Regions from separate parts of the Homo sapiens genome. Here all the other regions are linked to region 4. Evidence: promoter capture Hi-C in 16 types of primary human blood cells and fetal thymus (Javierre and others, 2016). All regions are on one chromosome and are shown on one strand. Each heading gives the region's core, a stretch centred on a gene start or on the middle of the fragment in contact. The rest is flanking DNA. Distances are from core to core; before and after follow the strand shown.

What was found. The method cuts DNA at HindIII sites, captures the fragments that hold promoters and counts their contacts. A CHiCAGO score of 5 or more calls a contact.
Region 1: a contact is called between a fragment that was not itself captured here and the fragment with the promoter of CYP4V2 in region 4, in 2 of 17 cell types (activated CD4 T cells and naive B cells). The highest score is 6.6, in activated CD4 T cells.
Region 2: a contact is called between a fragment that was not itself captured here and the fragment with the promoter of CYP4V2 in region 4, in 1 of 17 cell types (naive B cells). The highest score is 5.2, in naive B cells.
Region 3: a fragment that was not itself captured here is called in contact with the fragment with the promoter of CYP4V2 in region 4 in 1 of 17 cell types (total CD4 T cells); the score reaches 6.2 in total CD4 T cells.
Region 5: a contact is called between the fragment with the promoter of CFAP97 here and the fragment with the promoter of CYP4V2 in region 4, in 1 of 17 cell types (M2 macrophages). The highest score is 6.6, in M2 macrophages.
Region 6: a fragment that was not itself captured here is called in contact with the fragment with the promoter of CYP4V2 in region 4 in 3 of 17 cell types (M2 macrophages, M0 macrophages and naive B cells); the score reaches 7.3 in M2 macrophages.

What each region holds. Positions count from the first base shown.
Region 1 is chr4:185,595,993-185,599,514 of GRCh38, reverse strand. All of the region lies in intron 24 of SORBS2 (sorbin and SH3 domain containing 2), which reads left to right. Among named protein-coding and RNA genes, the nearest start is that of SORBS2-AS1, 9.8 kb to the right of the region's middle. The HindIII fragment of the contact is 1,502 bases long and covers 989-2,490 here.
Region 2 is chr4:185,478,563-185,482,261 of GRCh38, reverse strand. No RefSeq gene overlaps it. Among named protein-coding and RNA genes, the nearest start is that of CCDC110, 8.7 kb to the right of the region's middle. RefSeq lists an enhancer at 1,516-2,017. The HindIII fragment of the contact is 4,138 bases long and covers 1-3,699 here.
Region 3 is chr4:185,461,548-185,464,921 of GRCh38, reverse strand. It overlaps CCDC110 (coiled-coil domain containing 110), which reads left to right. Exons shown (of 7, transcript NM_152775.4): 3 at 1,873-1,928; 4 at 2,214-2,279. Among named protein-coding and RNA genes, the nearest start is that of CCDC110, 8.5 kb to the left of the region's middle. The HindIII fragment of the contact is 920 bases long and covers 807-1,726 here.
Region 4 is chr4:186,190,149-186,193,400 of GRCh38, reverse strand. CYP4V2 (cytochrome P450 family 4 subfamily V member 2) reads right to left here and starts at 1,834. Exons shown (of 11, transcript NM_207352.4): 1 at 1,364-1,834. The coding sequence starts at 1,577. It overlaps FLJ38576 (a long non-coding RNA gene), which reads left to right and starts at 1,911. Exons shown (of 1, transcript NR_046264.1): 1 at 1,911-3,252. RefSeq lists a silencer at 1,508-2,037. The HindIII fragment of the contact is 5,614 bases long and covers 473-3,252 here.
Region 5 is chr4:185,201,973-185,205,258 of GRCh38, reverse strand. CFAP97 (cilia and flagella associated protein 97) reads left to right here and starts at 1,259. Exons shown (of 5, transcript NM_020827.3): 1 at 1,259-1,361. It also overlaps a transcript of SNX25 not described here. RefSeq lists enhancers at 107-196, 307-416 and silencers at 1,176-1,347, 957-1,726. The HindIII fragment of the contact is 9,685 bases long and covers 1-3,286 here.
Region 6 is chr4:185,638,994-185,642,630 of GRCh38, reverse strand. SORBS2 (sorbin and SH3 domain containing 2) reads left to right here. Exons shown (of 27, transcript NM_001395207.1): 14 at 3,596-3,637. Among named protein-coding and RNA genes, the nearest start is that of SORBS2-AS1, 53 kb to the right of the region's middle. RefSeq lists an enhancer at 3,622-3,637. The HindIII fragment of the contact is 1,921 bases long and covers 408-2,328 here.

The sequences.
Region 1 (3,522 bases), core at 490-2,989, 590 kb after region 4:
GATGTGCACTACATCCTCTCAGTCTGCCTTTTGTCCCCATACTGCTGTCTGGATTCTATCCACTTCCTATTTCTTGCCAGCTCTGATTGAACTTAAAGGTCAAATTACTTTCCCTTAGCTACTTCGTTCCATAGTATCTACAGTACTTTAAAATACATGGACTCTAAATGGTACTTACTATCAATTCTAAGGAATGCAGCCAAGGAGTTTGGAAATTTTCATCTGGACATAAGTCAGGATTCCTTTCCTCATTTCTGTTTTAATGGACCCGGATTCAACCTTGACTGGCCTATCGCATGGCCGTGCTTCTGCATTTCAAGAAGTTCTCAAGGGCTTGATTTCACAGAAGTCTTCATTTTTTATTTCTAAAGAAAAGTCGATATTATTCTGCATTCATGCCACTTTGTGCTTTTTGCATTGCATAGGAAGACCTCATTTTGTTGCTGAGGCAGAGCTTTGTGTTGCCATAGAGACAGAAATGCCAATTTGTAGAGACTCTTAGACTCCCCCGAATGGCCTTCCAGAGCCAAAGCAAAACATAAGCTTCTTTTGCAGTGAAAAGGACCCATCTATAACCCTCCTGTGGGTCCACGAGATGGTATGCTTGTGTTCCCCTTAAGGTTTTTTTTTTATTTTTTGCCTGATTTTTACATTATGTATTTGTATGTCAGATTACACGTGTGTTTGTGTGAACCATAAATATTCTATTTTTTTAGATTTATGCAAAGTTGTGTTTTACCTTCATAATTTAAGAAGGAAAAATAAGCCTCTAGAAACATAAACGTGGTATTATTAGGAGAATTTCATCGAATTCTGGTGGGCAAATATGACAACTAATATTTTATAAAAAAAGATAAAAACACTTTAGCACTGCTTATATTGCTTTCAGAGATTTTTTTGCATTAGTGTTTAAAGTAACAGTCAATCCTTCTTTAAGAATTATTTGATACTAAATATAGCTAATCCTCCAGAGATAACTGCAGAAGCTTTGATAAATTAGACGGCTTTTCAACAGACTGTAGCTCACTAAGATCGGAAAGTATATATTTTACTGATGTTACAGACTCCATGATGTTTCAAACCAGCTTCCTTATGAACAGCAACTTGTGATTGGTTCTGGCTTTGGAAATTAGCATGTGTTTAAAACTTGTCTCTTTTGTATCCGTTTTTGACAACATTAAAAAATAGCTACAGAAAAATACTTACATAGTCAGGGCTACAGAAAAAAATACATATTTAGGATACGATGAAAACCGCAGCATGCTTCACTGGATTTTTCTCTTGTTCTACTCTTAAGATTCATCAAGGAAATATAAGCATAATATAATTCTTGTTCAAAATGCCCAGCACAGTGATTGTAATGTGTCAGTTGAAAGCCATCTTTCTAGGTTCAGCTCATGTAAGCCTCTCTGAATGTCACAAGTGTATATTGTTCTATATTTATCTTAAAACTGCTAAGAAGTTAGGGGAAATGGAAATGCCTGCACAGATAGTCAAAATAGAAATGGACACGGACCAAAAATGCTGGTGGCTTTACAAGGGATGCTTTCTCAAAAATTTAAAACGTGGGGAGGGAAGAACATGGTTAGGAAAACAGATGACTGTCTATTCCACATCACTCTGCGGCCTTTAAAATAGGCTTTTAAAATTTTTCCAGCCTTGGGAACTTGGATAAAAAGGGGCAGATAAAGCAGAAACAACTCTCAGCTTGTTGCTGCCATTGCTCACCACTAGGTGGCGACAGAGTGCAGCTGCATTACAAATCTCTGCTTAAGCGACTTGCCATTTGAGTTACATCACCAAGGGGAAAGGGCGAAAGACAGTCTCCCCAGATAATCTATTTACATCACCTTATAGGACATTTGCACCTACCTCAGCGTCAAAATTAAGATGCTGATTTTAGCCAAGGTAGGCCAAGTAGTCCATCATAGTAATCTTTCATGCAATAGCGTGCACATCGAAATTACCATTTTGTTTCTTTTTCTGTTTGTTTTTTACCTATTTGTCGTATTAAGAAATTATCCAGTATCTTTGGGTTTTGGTTTACCATTCTGCAAAATGGAGTTGAATTGTAACCATTATTTTTTTTTACGTGACCGAGACACATGAGAATTAACCAATCAATGTCAGTGTCCCAGCTCTCTGTGTAAAACTGATGACGGACACCTTTACACAGCAGAGGAAATACATCTGTGGAAATGTGTATCCTTCATGGAATCCCTGAGGGGACCCGATTAACCCTCATCTTGTCCAACTCATTGATTTCAGAGATAGGGAAGCTGAGGCATCCCCAAGGTTATATGGTGCTTAACGCCCAAAACAGAAAGACGCAGATGAGCCGTCTTAGATAACTGTTCTTGCTACTCATTCCCTACTAGTCAAATGCCTTTAAAATAAACTATTTCAAGTACTGTAATTAGTCAGCTTTCCTCAAAACTGTCTCCTAGTTATCCACATTAACATGGAGGTGATTCTTGTTAAAGGTAAGCTTTGAAAAGTTCTAAAACTCGCCATTATAAGACACACACAACTTCTCTGCTACGAAAAGTCTTGATTGATTCTGGCCTCAGGATGTGAACAGTATAGAAAACTGATGATTTGTGTGTAAAAAGAGGGGCAGGGTTTGAAAGATATGAAGGAAGGGAAAAGAGAAATTGGGAAACAGGTAAAAGCAAGGACGGGGGCCGGGCGCAGTGACTCACGCCTGTAATCCCAGCACTTTAGGAGGCCAAGGCGGGAAGATCACAAGGTCAGGAGATCGAGACCATCCTGGCTAACATGGTGAAACCCTGTCTCTACTAAAAATACAAAAATTAGCTGGGCACGGTGGTGCGTGCCTGTAGTCCCAGCTACTCGGGAGGCTGAGGCAGGAGAATCGCTTGAACCCGGGAGGCAGAGGTTGCAGTGAGCCAAGATCACACCACTGACCTCTAGCCTGGTGGCAGAGTGAGACTCCATCTCAAAAAAAAAAAAAAAAAAAAAAAGCAAGGACGGTGCTGGCTGCCCCACACAGGAACATACGTTCTCCAGCCATGGACGTGGGATCCAGGAAGCTGCAGGTTTGCAGCAATCACCAAATTTTCATAATGGTCAATGGGACAGTTCAGTTAAATGATTGATGAGGTGGGTTGAGTTAAAGGAATTAAACTAGTAGAATTATAATGATGATAACTAAAAAGGGATATACGGACTTTAAAAGTTGATTGTTTTACATTAATGAACAATTTGATTTTTAAAGTGGTATTCACATTTTAACAAAAGAGCAATGAAATGAAACTAACCAGTTTTACAAAGCATTGGATGCCATGATGTAGAAGTTGAAACTTTTACTCAATTTTAAAATATTAAAATGGTTTAAATGTGTGAAAACAGGGATGCCAATTTTAGAGCATAATGAAATATATTTTACACAACATTTTCTCTTAAGACAAGAATAAATAATATTTTCTTATTCATAACTTTATTATGCACTGCAAATGGTGCTATGATTGTTTTGGGGAAAGAGTAGTAGCTATCTTGGTA
Region 2 (3,699 bases), core at 386-2,885, 710 kb after region 4:
CCTATTCCTGCGGATCCCAAGAGAGCTGATATTTCACACTGAAACTGATCAGGTTCATGGAGCTCACTGGAGCTTTTCTTCATCTGAGGAGGGCAGTTTTAAAAGCCTGATCTCACATGAAACCCAACTCCACCAAAGACTCACTGACAATACTCTGTTATATCCAATGGTAATTTCAAGGCAATTCTTAATTCTTTAAGGATTTAGAAGACTAACAGAATTAAAGTCAATTCTGAGTAAGATTTCCAGCTACTGACACATTATTTCTAATCCTTATAACAACTTTGCCAAATAAATATTTTACAGATGAGGGAAAGTTTCAGAGAGTTGGATTTTTGTACAGGGCCAAACAGGTAGAAGGAAAAAAGCATGTAAACTCACCAATATTCACTAGTAATAAGTAAGATGGTTTGGAAATCTTTACACCTATGAAATTTAAACATTATTAAAATTCCTCCTCTCTATTGTATGGTTTTATTTTTTATCACTGATAAGTTATAGTCCATGTTTGTTCTCTTTAGAATAAAAATCATTTCTTCCATGAGTGCTAGCAAAAGCAGTGTGGAATAATAAAAACATTAAGTAATACTGTCACTAAGAAGGTTGTCATGGAGAGAGCTCTGGATAAGGACTTGGAATGCGGGCACAGCTTGGCCATCTGCAGAATGAGGAGGGAGGACAGGATGATCTCTGAGACCTCTAATACTCAAATACTCAATGTTCTGTTTTTGACATTGTCTTCACCTGTGTCAACTAGGCTGGCCATTCCATTTAGTGAGGGCACGCTGTCAATGTGGCCAGGTTCTTGGTGCAATTTAGAAGTTTCTTTCTGTTCCATGGTCATAAATGCCACCTCTAACTCATGCGTGGCTCACAACAGAAATCAAGCAAGGAGCATGCATTTATCATTGCAAATTAATTAGCTCCATTGAAAGTACACATTAATGGTAACTTTATATAGCAAGGGGAAACATGCCATTATTATTAATGTAAAACAAGTGGCCTGAGGCAGTGCAGCTCTTTAAGTGTCTAAAAACTAGAAGGCAGTTTGGCATCAAAAAGAAAGGGGCTCTCCTAACTTTTAAAGTCAGATAAAAAAGGAAAAAGAGAAAAAGGGGCTCATGTACTACAAGTTGAATTAAAGACTCCTCAGTCTGGAAGAGGCTACAGAGACTACTGCCTTTGACAGACTCAAAATGATGACACCTACTCACCCGTAGTAAACTTCACAGACAGCACTCATTGGACCTAAGGACCTTGTTACAAAGAAAGTGTGTTCCCCGTTGCTTCTGTCTCTGTCATCTCTACAAAACGGCCAGACCTTCACACATTCAAAGAGACTGTTAGTCCTCTGTCCTCCTCTTGGTCCGAGTCATGTCTATCACTCAATTCCTATTCTATTACTCTATTCTTCAAGTTCTCTTTCCAACTTATTTTATTGCACCCAGACTGTCTTTGCCACTGATTCTCATTCCCAGCCTACAAACATGCTCAAGTACTCCAACCCATCCTAAAAATATCCCTTTCCCTAACACCTGCTCCTTCTCGAGCTACTTTGATATTTCTCTATGTCTGACCCTTTAGCACACCAAACTTGTTAGAGTTAAACCAGCATCACTCTCTCAGTAACCCACCATAGCATTAAATAAACCCTCTTAAAGCAGCAATTAACTTCCTAAGAGCCACAGCTGGAGTTTACCTTGTTGGCTTATGGAGCTCATTCGCATATAGATGAAATCAGGTGTTAACACTAACACTAACGGCAACTTAAAGAAGGCTGGGGGAAGAGGTGTTTGTATTTGGATAAAGCCTTTGAGTTGCGGAAGGAAGGGCCACTACCCACCCAAGACATCCTAAGTCCCTAGCACATGGGTCCTCTCTGTGATCAAAACACAATTGCCCAAATTTCTTTCTTTCTTTCTTTCTTTTTTTTTTTTTGAGACAGAGTCTGTCACCCAGGCTGGAATGCAGTGGTGCAATCTCGGCTCACTGCAAGCTCCACCTCCTGTGTTCAAGCGATTCTCCTGTCTCAGCCCCCCGAGTAGCTGGGACTACAGGTGCCCACCATCACGCCTGGCTAATTCTCTGTATTTTTAGCAGACACGGGGTTTCACCGTGTCAGCCAGGATGGTCTTGATCTCCTGATCCAGTGATCCGCCCACCTCGGCCTCCCAAAGTGCTGGGATTACAGGCGCAAGCCACCACGCCCGGCCCCAAATTTCTTGTACCCTAAGGGCAATCTGGTCGTTTTTTCATGCTACTATAGATTTCATCTATGATTAATAATAGCCTTGTGATATCAGGTTTAAAAAAAGGTCTTATGAAACTGAAAAGCCCAGAAGTATTTTAGTCTGGTAATAAGTTGCTAAGAATAGGTTCCCTAGCTTGTTTTTGTGCAATGCTCTTGACTTTACTCCAGATTGTTAAATCTGCAGCTGTTAGTCAACAGGTGAAGAGGATTCCCTAGGAGGAGCTACTGTTTGAAGATTTTTGAAATACTGTGACTCACAGCTTTTGTTTAAATTGGTACTTCAGATTTTAATTCCATCCTTCAGCAAATGACCTTCACAATCAAAAAAAGTCAAAGATTTTTTTCAGGGCAGTTGGTGGACTGACTAACATATGTGGCCAGGGAAACCATACCCAACCCCCTACAGAATATGCTCTACCCTCTATCTGACATGGGGCCGAGTAAAATAGAAAGTCTCACCACAAGAAGGAGGTTTTGCAGGTGGAGTGGGATGCCTCATCAGGTATTGTGAACTTTCAGCTCTGAAGATGTTTATACGGTCTCTATACTCTTGTAAAATTTAGATTAAACACTGAGCTAACCCCTAGAATTGTAATGTGTTATGGGTTGGGGCAGAACCAAAGTTTCGGAATTAGGAAGTCTGGTACTGACCAATTACAAAGAGTTTTTTAAAGTTCCCTAACCTCATATTTTCATATTCCCACATAAATCTGGAAACAACATTTTTCCTAAAATTCTGCAACTCTCAATAAAATGACACATAAGCAAGAATATATCACCCACAACTTAATTATTGGGGTAATAATTACAATAAGGAAGGAGGAGATTTAGCATCTTCCAGAGTATTAAGGTTCTAGACTTTGTTTCCCTATTTCAAACAGGGTAACGAACATACATCACTGTCGCAGGAGAAGGAGGTGTCAGGAGGGCCTGGGCAAGGGGACTCTGCATACTTTTGCCAGGTTTTTGTGGCTATCACTGACCCTTTATTTCCTACATATTGAAAATGTGCATGCTGTAGAAGATACTGAGTCCTCAGCAGCAGCCAAAGAGGCTGGGAAAAGCTCAGAGGACCGGATCCTTCCAGCCTCACTGGGGAGAATGGTGTTTTCTCCACTTTGGAAGTCGAAAGGAAATTTCATTGTACTACTCCCTTTGACTTCAGTTAATTCTAATTTGTGTTCTAGATAAGCAAATAATCACCTTACTTGACTTTAGCAACTTTGCAATAAGAAACTTTAGGGTCAACATGGTAGATTGAGAGCACACATAGGAAAAACGCATTTTAAAAATATATTTTAAAATACAGCTGGTGTAAGAAATTATATTATTTACAGTAAATGGTACATCAATTGGATAGCCTTATTTTTTAATGGATGTTGGCCCCTACCTCACACTCTGTATAAAAATCAATTCCAGATGAATAGCAGATATACATATGAAAGATA
Region 3 (3,374 bases), core at 17-2,516, 730 kb after region 4:
AATCTTTAATTCTTTTCATGTTAATTTTCATTAGTTTACAGGGATCTCTTAGGAAATAATATCTCTCATGTAGTAAAAAAAAATCCAAATACTAGAAATAATTTCCACTACTTGCAGTTTTAAAAATTCTCTTAAATTCAAGTAAATATAGGCAATATTTATGTAAAATACCATTTATGTATAAAATGATTCCACTTCATCCACTTATGTGCATAGAGAGCTGACCGAAAGATGGCACCTAAAATTAACAACAGTTCGTTGTGGGTGGCAGGATTCTAGGTGGTATATTCTTCCCGATTTGCACTTTGGTCTAGTTAAGTTCATTAGAAGAGGTTACTTTAGAGTCTGAAAAACGTTGTGTTTCCTTCCTATGCTGGTCTGGGCCTTCCTTCAGTTCCTTATTTTTTAGATGAACAGTTCAGGATACCAGGAGTTTAGCTGCCATTTTATTCCCAAGAAGAGGCAAAGCTAAGCAAGATCCAGACAGCAAGATCCGCCCTCTGACTGAAGGTGGAGGCAAAGCTAAGCAAGATCCAGACAGACTCGCTCTCCCTCCCCACCCTCTGACTGAAGGTGGGATTCTTCAATAGCCAGGCAGCTCCAGGCTCCAAACCAGCGTTGCCCCTTTGGTGGTGAGGGTCAGAGAGCAGAAGGGGTGCCTGTACTTTGCAAGCGGCTTCTCTAACATCTGACAGCCTGCCAATCCAAAGGAGATTCGCTGACCTCTTTTAAAACTTAGGGCAGAAATTATCAGCCTAGGGGAACGTTCCATCATAGCTCTCATTTTACTTAGGACACTGAAAGCTTTTATGAATACACTCTTTAATAAAAAGTTTACAAAGCAAGCAGCCTAACATGCAGACAAAGAGGGATATAAGGGCATTTGCAAACATGATAGAGTCTCCCCCTGTTGCAGATCTATAATCTATCCAGGACGGTATCAAGCAAGTGACATTCTGCCTATTATCAAAAGAAGCTGGAGTACTTCTGTCTACTGTATCTTAGTATCGGAGTCGCCAAGCAAAACACAACAGTCAAGCACCGGATGCAACAACCCTTTACTCACAGAATGAAGAGACGGAGCAAGATCAGCCTCAGTAGTGGGTGTTGGTTCCCCATGGCCAGAGGGCCCCTTCTGGCCCATCTATAATCTAGCAGGGGACAGAGTAGCAGGGTTGGCCAGGTATCATATGACACACACACTTAAGCAGAACAAAGGAGTACACACTGAGTCTGAAGCGGGGAGTGCTATCCCCACACATGGTAGCAAGTCCAGCACAGGCTGTGAACGAGGACTTTAAAAAGAGTCCCCTTGGTAAAGAAGTGTTCCAGGCCCAGGCCCATTCATACATGGCCAAGAGGGGATCTAAAGACTGTGAATGTGAAACTGCCCTTCCCAAGGGAAGCCACAAGTGCGTACTGTGCTTAAGCCAGGACAAAAATTATGCTGTTGATCCAACTTGGTTTCCATAAGGGGAAAAATGTCACATGGAAATTTCACAGAAATTGAGGCCTGTATACTACTTTGCCAAGGGTCTCCCATAATATGAGCATTATTAGGTTTTTTTTGAATGCAGTTTATATCCCAGAAACAAAGATATTTGATATTTGAGTTTTTGAGAGTTCTAAGTGTGGTGTTGCAAATTAACGGTGTACTCTAAAAGTGAAGACACTATTACAACCTCAAGTGGATATATTAAGTCAAGCGAGAATTATCACTTAAGCTTATGTGACTAGCATAGTGTGAATATCAGAAGTTCTCATTATCTCTGCCTCACTATCCAAGCAAGTTAGGAGACTGCTTTCTATTACAGGTTTTAAAAAATAAAATTTAAGAATTAAGTCACATGGTTTTTCAATTTTGCTTCTTAGAATATGGCTGCATAGCAGAATCAGAAAATCAAATCCAACCACAATCAGCATTGAAAGTGAGTCTATATTCCATTTTATCATCTCCAAAATTCTGGGTAAAGGCTGATCTTTTTCAGAATAAATACTCCCTAAATGCAAACGGGTTCTCTCACTTTATCCTCACAAGGATCTCCATGAAAGCACATTGGGGAGTTAGCAAAATGCCTAAGAATGTGAACCACCTGACCCTCACGGGATCTTTTCAAGTAATAGGCAACTTTGGGAGACATAAAATCATAACAATTCAAGAATACGTTTACCTACCTAAAAATACTCAATTTCATACTTTACTTTTGTCATAGGTCCTTCAGCAGCAGTTGGAATCATTTCAGGCTTTGCGAATGCAGACTTTGCAGAATGTCAGCATGGTATGTTTCTTTTGATCTATATATGAAATATCTCACCTTGAAGTATCATCCCATCTTCTAAGCTGATGGTCACTAGCCAATGGATTAGCTGACACAGAATTTAATATAATAGAGGCCACAGCATATTCTAGGCTCAAAATTTATTTTAAAGAAACTACATTCTTCTCTCTGTTATACTTGTATTTGGAAACAAGCCCAAAGAGATAGCACTCGCTGATTTTTTCAATACACGTTTAAAGTCTATATATAGACTACAAATAGGGACCCTCATTATAGGTGACATGAAGTCTAATTCAAACTGGCTTAGGGAAAAAATACACTTTAATAGCTCAAGTAAATGAAAGTCCTGGAGAGAGCTCACTTCAGGATGGCTGAGTCCACATGATCAGGTCTTGTGTCGTCAAAATAGGTCTCACTCTGTATCCTGATTCTGCTTTCCACAGTAGGGGATTCTCAGACTCCCTGTGGTGGCAGAAGATCTGCTAGAAGGTCCAGTTCTTTCTCCTTCCAAATTCAAGTCAGAGAAGAGAGTACACTTTGCTTTGAGAAGGAGTTTCATTTTTGTCACCCAGGCTGGAGTGTGGTGGCATGATCTTGGCTCCCTGCGACTTCTGCCTCCTGGGTTCAAGCAATTCTCCTGCCTCAGCCTCCTGAGTAGCTGGGATTACAGGTGCCCACCACCATGCCTGGTTAATTTTTGTATTTTTAGTAGAGACCAGGTTTCGCCACATTAGCCAGGCTGGTCTTAAACTCCCGACCTTAGGTGATCTGCCCACCTCAGTCTCCCAAAATGCTGGGATTACAGGCGTGAGCCACCGCACCCGGCTACACTTTGCTCACAATAGTTTAGACTGAGGCTCTTGGCCTGATTCAGATGGATCCCGACTGGGTCACATGCAATGCTTGAACCAATCACTGTCAGGTGGCCGCTGTTCCCTGACTAGTTAGCACTCAGTCAGGTGCCCCTGGGAGTTAGAGGCAGAATCAATACTACCATAACCACGCTTCATCCAGAAGAAATAAGGAGAAGTATAAACAGAAGTCTAGAGTATAGATATTGGGGGTATGTAACACACACATATTCACTAAAGACCC
Region 4 (3,252 bases), core at 585-3,084:
ACTCTGAAAGTGACTACAAGGAGAATTACTTTAAATAGTCCAGTCAGCTCACAGGTTGTTTTGAAACAGGTCTTTATTCACTAGAGATTTTAATTACTGGAATCCCCAAAACAGTATGATGAGACTTCAGTATATTACTTTCCAGGGGTAGGGGATAGGGGAAAATCTATATTTTTGTACAGTTTATTTTTTAATACCATAAAGCCTTAGGACAAAAGGGGTGGTTAGCTCTGCTTTTAGAATTAACTGAGATGATTTTTACCAGTGTGATTTTCATATCTGTGTTGGATTACTTGTTACATCAGTCATGATGATATTTGGTTGGCAAAGAGTTCGCTTGATTTTTTTCTGTCAAAGTATTTTTAATATTTTGGTAAACACTCTTCCATGAGGCCTCATCTTGTGAAGTTGAAATTACAGCATTATTTTTATTAGAGAAAACAAGTGAAAATGAGAAAAAGTCCTTCAAGCTTTGGAGTTAGTTAATGCTCAGCCTGTAAAACGATTACTAACAAATAATCCCAGAGGAAACTGGGTTCTGGTCTGGGCCAATTTTAAAATATGCCATTTTGGGCAAATCTTCTCATTTCTGGGTACCTCAACGTAATCCCTGATGAAAATAAAACTCTGAGATCGAGTTCGCCCTCCCTGACAGGGAGTTGTAAATACCAGGTACTTTTGAGAGCTTTCTAACTTAACGTGATTTTTTTCCATCAATAAAATGTCCATCTCTGTTTTAAAACATGATTTTAATTAAAAAATTCACTCTTTAATAAACAAGGCGTTTGACACCCTCCAAAGAAGTCTGCCTGAAGGCCCTGCCGTCTCTTAATTGTTATTATGTAACATCCTTTAAAGGGCTAAAGTATGAAGGTCAAGCGGGAACTGAAGCAGCAGTCAAGTCTTGTGATGCCGGGAGGAAGCGTCCAGTGAATCTCTAGTCTCTTATTTTCCAAAGTGGCAGCGAGAGGAGGGCGGCTCTGGGCGTTAAGGTGTTGGCCAGTTTAAAACCGCTCTGTGCTCCCAGGGAGCTTCTGTTCCTAAGGCTTCCCAAGCCAAGGCAGGAGGAAACGGCAGGGCTTTGAGAGCTGAGCAGCGGTGAGGTGGGAAAAGACCGAGGGCAGGGGTTTGGAAATACCGCATCCTGTGCTACACACAAAGAAAATGCTCACTTTGGGATGGGGCACTAGCAGTGTCGGCGGGTGCCAAGGGGCAACGACTAGAACTGGGAGTGCATTCTCCACAGGGTGACAGGCTCCTCTCTCCTGCGGCCAGCGCCACAAGCAGCGGGTTCCTGGCTGATCGGAGGGTGGGAACGGGGCTGCGGACCCCGTTGCGCTCCAGGAGGAGCGCCGGCCCTTACCTCGCCCGTCCGGCTTCATCAGCAGCGCGTGGCCCACCAGTGGGTAGGCGCGGGCCACCGTGGGGATGGGCCGCATCTGCTGCCATTTCCGCGCGTAGCTCGCCACCCTCTGCAGCAGGCTCAGGACCAGACTGGCGCCGGCCAGGGAAAGGGCACTCGCCGCGCCCCACAGCAGCAGCTTCTGCCACACGAGCCCCAGCCAGAGCCCCGCCATCGCCCCGGCTGGCGGCCGCGGGGTGCACTCCGGGAAAGTGCGGGCCCGCGGGGGCGTGGTGCGAGGCGGTGCCGGCCGCACACCGCCCACTTCCCCGCGCGGACCTGGCGCGCTCCCCGCTGCGGGGTCGCCCGGTCCCCGGAACGACGTTTCCCGCCCGGGCGGCGGCCAGAGAGGGCGCCACGGGGCTGTTCCTGCGCCCGGCCCGGCCTACGCAGCACCGCGGCCTCCACGCCCCAGCCGAAAGCGAAAGACCGGAAAACGGTTTCCGGGCCCCAGGGCGTAGTGATTGCACTGGAGGCCCGGAGGCTGCGCCGGGAGGAGGCCGGCGACACTTCCGGCCGCCTCCGGATGCGGGGTCAGGGGCGTCGGAAAGGTCACCGCGGCAGCCCGGCGCGCCCCAGCGGGGCTGTTCTGAGGGTGCTGCGAGGTTGCTCTACGTGCGGGATTCCGCGGGCGGGCAGCCTGCTCTGGAGAGGAAAGGAAGGCGCATCCGGCTCGGAGCCCAGCTCTGCTGCGCATCGCTCGCTCCCTGCGCAACTTGCAGCCCCGGGAGGCGGGGCGCGTCCTGGCTCCCGCGGGGTCACATGGAGCAGCGGGCGCTGTAATCCAGGGAGGCTTTGGGGACACGTTAGGGAAGTCAGCTACCCGTGTGTGTCCGCTGGCCCACTGGGACACTGGGAGCTCAATGAGGTGGTTATGAGCCAGGTATTTTCCAAAATACGCACCAGGCACCAGACCGAGGAAGCCGGAGCCCCGGAGAGCACGCAGGGGCGGGTGGGAGAGGAAGGCGGGCGAGGCTGCTCAGCGGGTGCCGGGAGACCGCAGCCGCGGGGTACTCGCAGAAGAGCCAAGACCTGCCACCCAGCCCGGGAAGGGAGGGAAGGGCCGCGAGAGGGTGCCCCATTTCAGCCTGGGGAGACGCGTGTGCTGGCCGCCAGTCTCTCTTCCCGGCAGAGGGCCCCAGTGCTGACCCCAGCCCCTTTTCCACGCTCGATGCTTCTTACAAAGTGGCCGGGCGAGGAGTGTCGCTCCCCGAGAGGCCAGGCCCTTCCTAAACACTAAAGTGCCAGGAAGATGAAACTGAATGTCCTGGATGCCCGCTTTGCTTAATTACTAATTACGTTCGTTCACTCGAAGCCACTGCATAAGTTGGCCACAGCCACCTGCAGGGCCTCTTTAGTGCAGAGAAAAACATGCCTAAGGCTTTTCTCCATTTGAATTTGTTTTAAGTCATCTGCATGGGCTGACGTGAAATAGCAAGTGAACAAAACAAGTTGCAGAACGGAGTGTGTAAAGTAATGCCTTCTTTTGGAGAAAAGGTTTCTTTCTCTACGGCTCCACTAATGTCTGCAAGTAAAAATACTGATCAGCTCTATGGAGTGGGAATGAAGATGGGGAACTTACGCTTTTTATTTCATTCACGTCTACATTGTTTAATCACTTTAACACTTTAAAAAATAAATATGTTCACTTAGTATCTTTAAGCAAGTCTCATGGGCTTTAGTTTCCTCCTCTCTAAAGGGTTGAGGCTGAGCTATAATAAGGTTAATTACAGCTATAAAAGTAAACAATTTGTCTACATACTGGGGATTCTAAAATAGGGGGAGGAAGGAAGGGGAGTAATGGTTGAAAAACTGTGTATTGGGTACTGTGTTCCCTATTCAGGTGAGGG
Region 5 (3,286 bases), core at 10-2,509, 990 kb after region 4:
TGGTCTTGAACTCCTCTCAGGGGGCCCCACCCGCCTCGGCCTCCCGAAGTGCTGGGATTACAGGGGTGAGCCACTGCGCCCAGCCAATGCTGTCTTTTAGGCAACAAAAAGAGAATTGATTATACTTTTGGTAATTAAGACCAACAAGTACAAAATGCATTGTGAAGGACGAAAATAGACAATCCTTACTGGAACTCCCCGGGACAGGCAGGGTAAGACCCATATTTCCTACCCTTCTTTGCACTTAGATGTGAACAATATTTATTAACTACTGGATTGTATACCATTGCTGCTATAACAAATTACTACAAATTCAGTAGTTAAAACAACACAGGTGTATTGTCTTACAGTGCTTAAGGTATTAAGTCTAAAATCAAAATTTGCAGGCTCTAGTTCCTTCCTGAGGTTTCAGGAGAGAATCCGTTTCCTCCTTTTGCAGCTTCTACCTGCACTCCTTGGCTCATTGCCTCTGACATCACTCCAACCTCTAGCTTCTGTGCTCACAGCTCCCACTACTGACTTTGAACTTCTTGTCTCCATCTTATAAGGACCTTTGTGATTCCATGGGGTTCACTGGATAATCCTGGTTAATCTTCCCATTTTGATCCTTAATCACATCAGCTAAATCCTGTCTGCCACATAAGGTGACATATTCACGTGTTGTGGGGACTAGGAGGTGCACATTTTTGGGGTGCCATCATCCTACCATACCTGAGAGTTCAACGAGAAGTTATTGTATTCAATATATTCTGCAGAGATCATTTTTACCTTAGATTGTTTTAACTACCCACCTCGTTTACCACTCGGCAAAGGTCTTTCCATTCTGAAACCAGCCTCTGGTCCACAGAACTAACTAGTGGTATGAACTGAAATTTGCTGATAGAAAATATCACAAACACACAGCCGCCGTTCTTTTTTATTCTTGGTTTGGTAGAGAATTACAAGATAATCAAGGCAGCTTTCCCTATTAACGCACGAGAACAACGGGGCCTACCCGCGCCGCCCTAGGCAGCCGGGAGCAGCAGTAACGCCTCTAGGGCGCCATGGCAACCACGCGGGCTGGACCGCCTTCTTCCGCGGCTCTTCTAGTGTGCGCGTCCCTGGCCCGGCCTCCACTCCGCCCGCGTGGAGCCCCGGCCTGGCCGCCTGCCCGCCGCGCTCTGTGACGCCCGCCGCGAGGGCCGCACGAGGCCCGGCGTGCGCCCCCGCCTCTCCCGAAGCGCCGGGCCCCACGCCGCCCCTCCTTTCCCTTTCCGCTCTCTCCGCCTCCGGAAGCGCGGGCGCGCGGCGCCGGGAGCCCGTTCAGGGCCGCGGGAGTGCGCCAGCGCCGCGCGTGGGGCTGTGGTGGCCGCGGCTCTCAGGTGAGGGGCGCGCGAGCGGCTCCTGGCTCCCTGCTCGCGGGGCGCCCGCCACGCTCCTTTCCGTTCGCATCCGTCTCCCCGCTCCGGAGCCCAGGCGGCGGCGAGTACTCGGGGTGGGTTTAACGAAGCCTGCGCGGACGGTGGGAGACCGCGCCCCCACGACAGGGGCGCCCGCGGCGGCGGGTCGCGGCGCCGTTCCACCCCGGTCCCCTGTGAGAATGGCGGGTCCCGCCCTCTCGCGCGTTCCGGGTGGCTTTGAGGGTCAGGATCAGCCCTAAATTGAGATTGGGCCGCGACCACATGCCGGGCCCTGACGACTTCTTCCTACTTGTAGGGACTCGAACCTAACCCACGAGGCCCGAGGGGTTATCTGCCTTCCGGGGACGGTAGGGGATGTAGACAAGAGCCTAGCGTTCCTGGAAACAGGTGTTTAATTTGGGCCGGGATTTTCATGTACCCAATTGGGCATCTTGTTGGAGGCCTACTGTGCTGTTTAACTACAGAAATGTATTGTCACAGTAACAAGATGACAGTTTAAAAAGTGCCCGGTGCTTTTCTGTGTATTTTCCTGATGTTTGGTGAAAGCATTAGTCTTGTTATTGCTGGTCTGTAGGACCTGGCAAGTGGGGCGTGCCCAGTGACTCTCAGGCAGCTTTGATAAAAACTTACCTGTCTCTTTTTTTTATTTTTATTTTTTGAGACAGGGTCTCGCTCTGTGGCCCAGGGTGGAGTGCAGTGGCACGATCATGTCTCACTGCAGCCTCCCAACTCCTGGGCTCAAGCGATCCTCCTGTCTTGGCCTCCCAAAGTCCGGGGATTACAGGCGTGAGCCATGCCCCTCCTGGCAAAACTCTGTCTTGATTGAGCACCAAAGGGTTGTTATGGTCTGATGAACTATCCTTTAATTTTATCCTTTCCTAGTCTGTTGTAAAGAGAATCTTAACTACTTTATTAAGTCATTTTTCTTATTCTCTGGTAAATTGAATCACTTACCTCGTAGTAAATGTTATCAAAAGAATTGCTCAGTGGATGGGATTGTTGGGTAAATTTTCCTGTAAATTAAGTCACATGAGTGTCGAAATCTTTACAGTAACTCTGTTGGATATTATTAACTAAAATTTAAACCTGAAAAGTCTCACAGGCACCGGACTATGCACCAGGGCGCATGAACTGTGACCACTTAGGGAGGCAGCTGGCTTCCAGCTCTTGGGGACTGCATGACCTTATCATGGAAATGCAGATAAAGGCATAGTTGTGGTTTGTGCTTCCGGAGGGGTGGGGGAAGATGGCAGGAAACTATCAAGGAAACTGGGTTGAAACCCGGTGATTTTTTTTGTTTGTTTGTTTTTTGAGATAGGATCTCACTCTGTTGCCTAGGCTGGAGTGCAGTGGCCTGATCTCGGCTCACTGCAGCCTCAGCTCCCAGGTTCCAGCGATTCTCCCACCTCAGCCTCCGGAGTAGCTGGGACTACAGGCGAGAGCTACAACGCCCGGCTAATTTTTGTATTTTTTGTAGAGGTGGGGTTTGGCCATGTTGGCCAGGCTGGTCTCAAGCTCCTGGGCTCAAGTGGTCTGCCTGCCTGGGCCTCCCAAAGTTACAGGCATGAGACTGTAACATGAGCCACCGCACATGAGCCTCCATGCCCAGCCACACACATACAAGGCGATTTTTCTACCCTCGTGGGTAGCAAAGAGCATGGCTCAATCTTAAATCTCCTAACTCCAAACTCCTTTGTGGGATAAACATTCTTTGAATGACTAAATTCATCAGGTTCTCCTTTGGGTACTGGGGTTATAAAGATGAGGAAGTGACGAGGAGCTCCCAGTCTGGCAAGGAGACAAGTGTAGGGGATGGGGGGAAAAACAAAAATCCTTTTTCCTTTAGCTGGGTCTGCAGCTGGGGCTGTAAGGCAGATTAACAGGAG
Region 6 (3,637 bases), core at 119-2,618, 550 kb after region 4:
AAATGTTAATTAATTGGGCCTAATGTTTGATCTGGAAAAGTACTTAGCAGTCACCAGGAATTTGCCTTGAACTGACTCGAACCACAAATCAGAACCGTATTTCCACAATTTAATTTTTCCATGAGACAATCATAAAAACTCTGCTGGGATTATATTACTAAAACCTTTATATCCCATTGCATTGGATATGTTTGTAGGTGAGTAATGTTAAATTTAAAAAAAAAAATTAATAAAGCATTTGTTTAGGACCTCTGTATGCTTGATAAAGTAAAAAAAAAATATATGAAAATGTTACCCTAACCTACAATAACTAAACTTGAACATAATGATAAAAGCAGAAGAAAATAGTCATTGAAAACACTGTAGCAGAGTTGAAATGCAACTTAAACCCTTAATGAACTTAAGCTTCTTTATCAATAAAGATTGTCAGTCAATACTTAACTATAAAAATTTAAGGAGTTTCATCTGATGACCATTAAGAATTATCCCAACTAATAATGTATATAGCATTTATTGTGAAACCACAATAAATATAAAACACGGTAGTCAATGTCATTAAAACTTAAAATGGAATGAGCGTAATTTGAAAAACAAAATAGCCCTGGCACTTCTTTTTGTTTAGAACAACGTATAGAAAGCACATGCCTCACTGAGAATACTTAGTGGAATCTCGATAACCACAAAAGCAATTAAATGCTTTTAAATTATAGAAAACACTAAAATTTTTAAAGTTGTTCACCCTTGGTAGCTTTTAAGTAAGGATCACTTGTGATTTATAGTTGTAGCTTTTCTTGAACACGTCCTCTTGCACTGATGACTAACAAAGTTAGTTTTAAACGGAGGTTTGCTGGTGGGTTTTTTTTTTTTTTTAATGAAAAGAAACAACAACAAAAAAATCACACCAAGGCTAGAAAGATGCATATCAGTATCTTTGCTCTTTTGCCTTTTATGAGCAATTAGAGTAAACCATAATCATACCTCCTAAATGAGTTTCTGAGTGTTAATATTAGTGCTGTACTCAAAGGAATGTCCATGTTCCACATGGAAAGTGTTAAATTACTGAGATTAGTGATTTGTGTGTATATCCATCTGTTGACTGACCATCTGTATGTGTGTCACTGACTGTTGCGAGGCTTCTGTGTTCCTTAGCAGTGCCTCCAGGTCACCATAGGACATTTAATTATTGCATGACTTAAAAGATTCAATACGGCAACCACAGCAAAGAGAAAATTCTAGTTCTGCCACTAACACTTCCTTTAACACAACTCTGCTCAAACATGTGCCTTTCATTGCATTCCAAAGTTATCGATAATTACCAGCTATCATTGTTTTGGGTGTTTTCTCTGCTAATTTCTATTGGCATGCATTCTAGATAGTTGCCCATTGTAACTATAAATTGACTATTTAAATAAACAAAAGCATAATTCATGGAAAACTGCCATTCTAAGGTATGATGCAAGATGGTAGATATTCTGCTTCCTTTTCCATATTCTATCATAGAGATGCATTACTATAAATCAGGACTTGGTATATCCATTTGTTACATATTTTCTTAATGTGGGAGTCAAAGTGAAGCTACATAGCTAACAAGTCTTATTCATTTAGTAAGTTGGCTGCCCTCTGCTGTTCATAATGTTTCTTAAACAGATTCGTTTCCTCTAAGAGAAGTTTCTATCTCCCCTTGGCAAAACAAAATACTATTCTTGAAAACAGAAGTTATAATAATTAATGATATCATTCAGTGTGTAACATTAGAAACTATGAAGTTTAAAAGAGTCAGAGGTTAGTTTTCCTGTAGAAGAAATAGTATGTCTCTCTAAACAGAAGAGAAATTACTGGAAATTCTCTCTCCTGTCAGTTACCCTAAAAACCAGCTCCAGCAAAGCCATTTCACGAACAATTATGCATCTATAATGATCTAAATAATAATTGGAGAAAAATAGTATTTTATGGACATTAAAATCTCAATTAATACTATTGCAACTATTGAATCAAATATAAATTGAATTAAATTTTTAAATTCAACAGAAAATAGCAAATTGGTTACTAGAATATTTTGTCTCTACCAATTTCACTATTACTTCTGAGGTGTAAACCAAATATAATACTGGCATAAAGAAGGAAAAATATCTCAAGATTTCTAGGCATTTTCCTATGTCTAATAGTAGGATGTTCTCTCTGAATTTATTTATTACAAAAATAACATTACAACAATAAAGCAAAATAATATTTAAAAGAAAGAAAAAACAAACAGTCGCAATACCAGAACACCATTGTAGTCGTTTGTGTATGTGTGACTTCTTTACTGTGTTCATGCAGAGACAAGCTTTGTAATACCTTTGTAACTACTGTACAGGTGCGTGGTTAGATTCCGTTTTGACTGCTTGGTATCTCATTGTAAGCATTTCCCAGGGACACTACACAGTCTTTATAATTATGATCACTACATCTTTTGGATAACTTAGGCTTTTGCACTATTTTGTCACGATGCCTCAAACTTTTCTATCATTGTCTGTAATTACTCCTATAATCTTTTATTATAAAATATTGAAACAAAGTCACATCACTAAAAACACTGTGAGTATAATTTATTAGTAAGTGTAGACTGTGTATCATTAGCAAAACTTGTAAATGCAACGAGTCAATAAAACAGTAGAACAATGTCAAAATCATGGCTTTTGTTGGAATATGGAACATTTCAAGCTCCCAGCACTGCGAAGGTTACATAGCATTTTTTTCACAACCAAGATGTCGCTATTCAGTTTAAGTCCCTGAGTTTCTTTAAGAATTGTAAGCAAATGATATTGAATTGTTCTGAAGCAGTGAGCACTTAATAGTCCTCCTAGAATATGTCTTGGGAGTCACAGCTCCTCTCCTAGCCAGAGTGAATGGCTTTTAGGGAACCATATAATTTTTCTTAGAATTTTTTTTCTGACTTAAGATACTGTACTCTTCAATTGTACCACATTTAATTAGTGTCATATAGTAATTATCAAAGAAGTAATAACTTGTATATAGTACTTTAAGCTCTTAGATTTACTACAAAATCAGCAGCCTAAATCAATCTAGTCAGCCATGTATTATTTGAAAATATTAAGGACACTGCTGGGTAAGGTAAACACTCTACATCTGTTTTCTATTACTAGAATAATTGTATGTATTTTCTCCAACTGTTTATATTAACACTGCTAGTTTTTTCATCTTAAAAACAACATTCAGAAACCTCTGCAGGGAAGCAGGTCAATTATAAAACTGGCTTTTTCTCTAAATTAGAACATCGAGGAAACCAAGATGGGATTTTACCCCAGGCTCCCTCCCCTTCCCCGCCATCCACGGTATTGTGAAGAACCAGATCCCCTTCTCAGCTCAGAGCAGGCAGCCGGGAGGTGAATCCTGGGGATCCACTCCTGGTGGGCAGGGCTTCGCAGCGGCCCGGATCGCTCCCGAGGCGTCTGGGTCCCTAGGGACACTTCGCCGTCCGGAGGCCTCTCCCCTCCCGGCCTAACGCAGGCACAGCGCGCTGCCAGGGTGTCCTCGCGGTTCCGCCCAGAGCCTCCATCTAATGAACCAGTTTCTGCACCCCTCTTTCTTGCAGCCCCCTCTCCCAACAACTCCGACACCTGTTCCAAGGGAACCT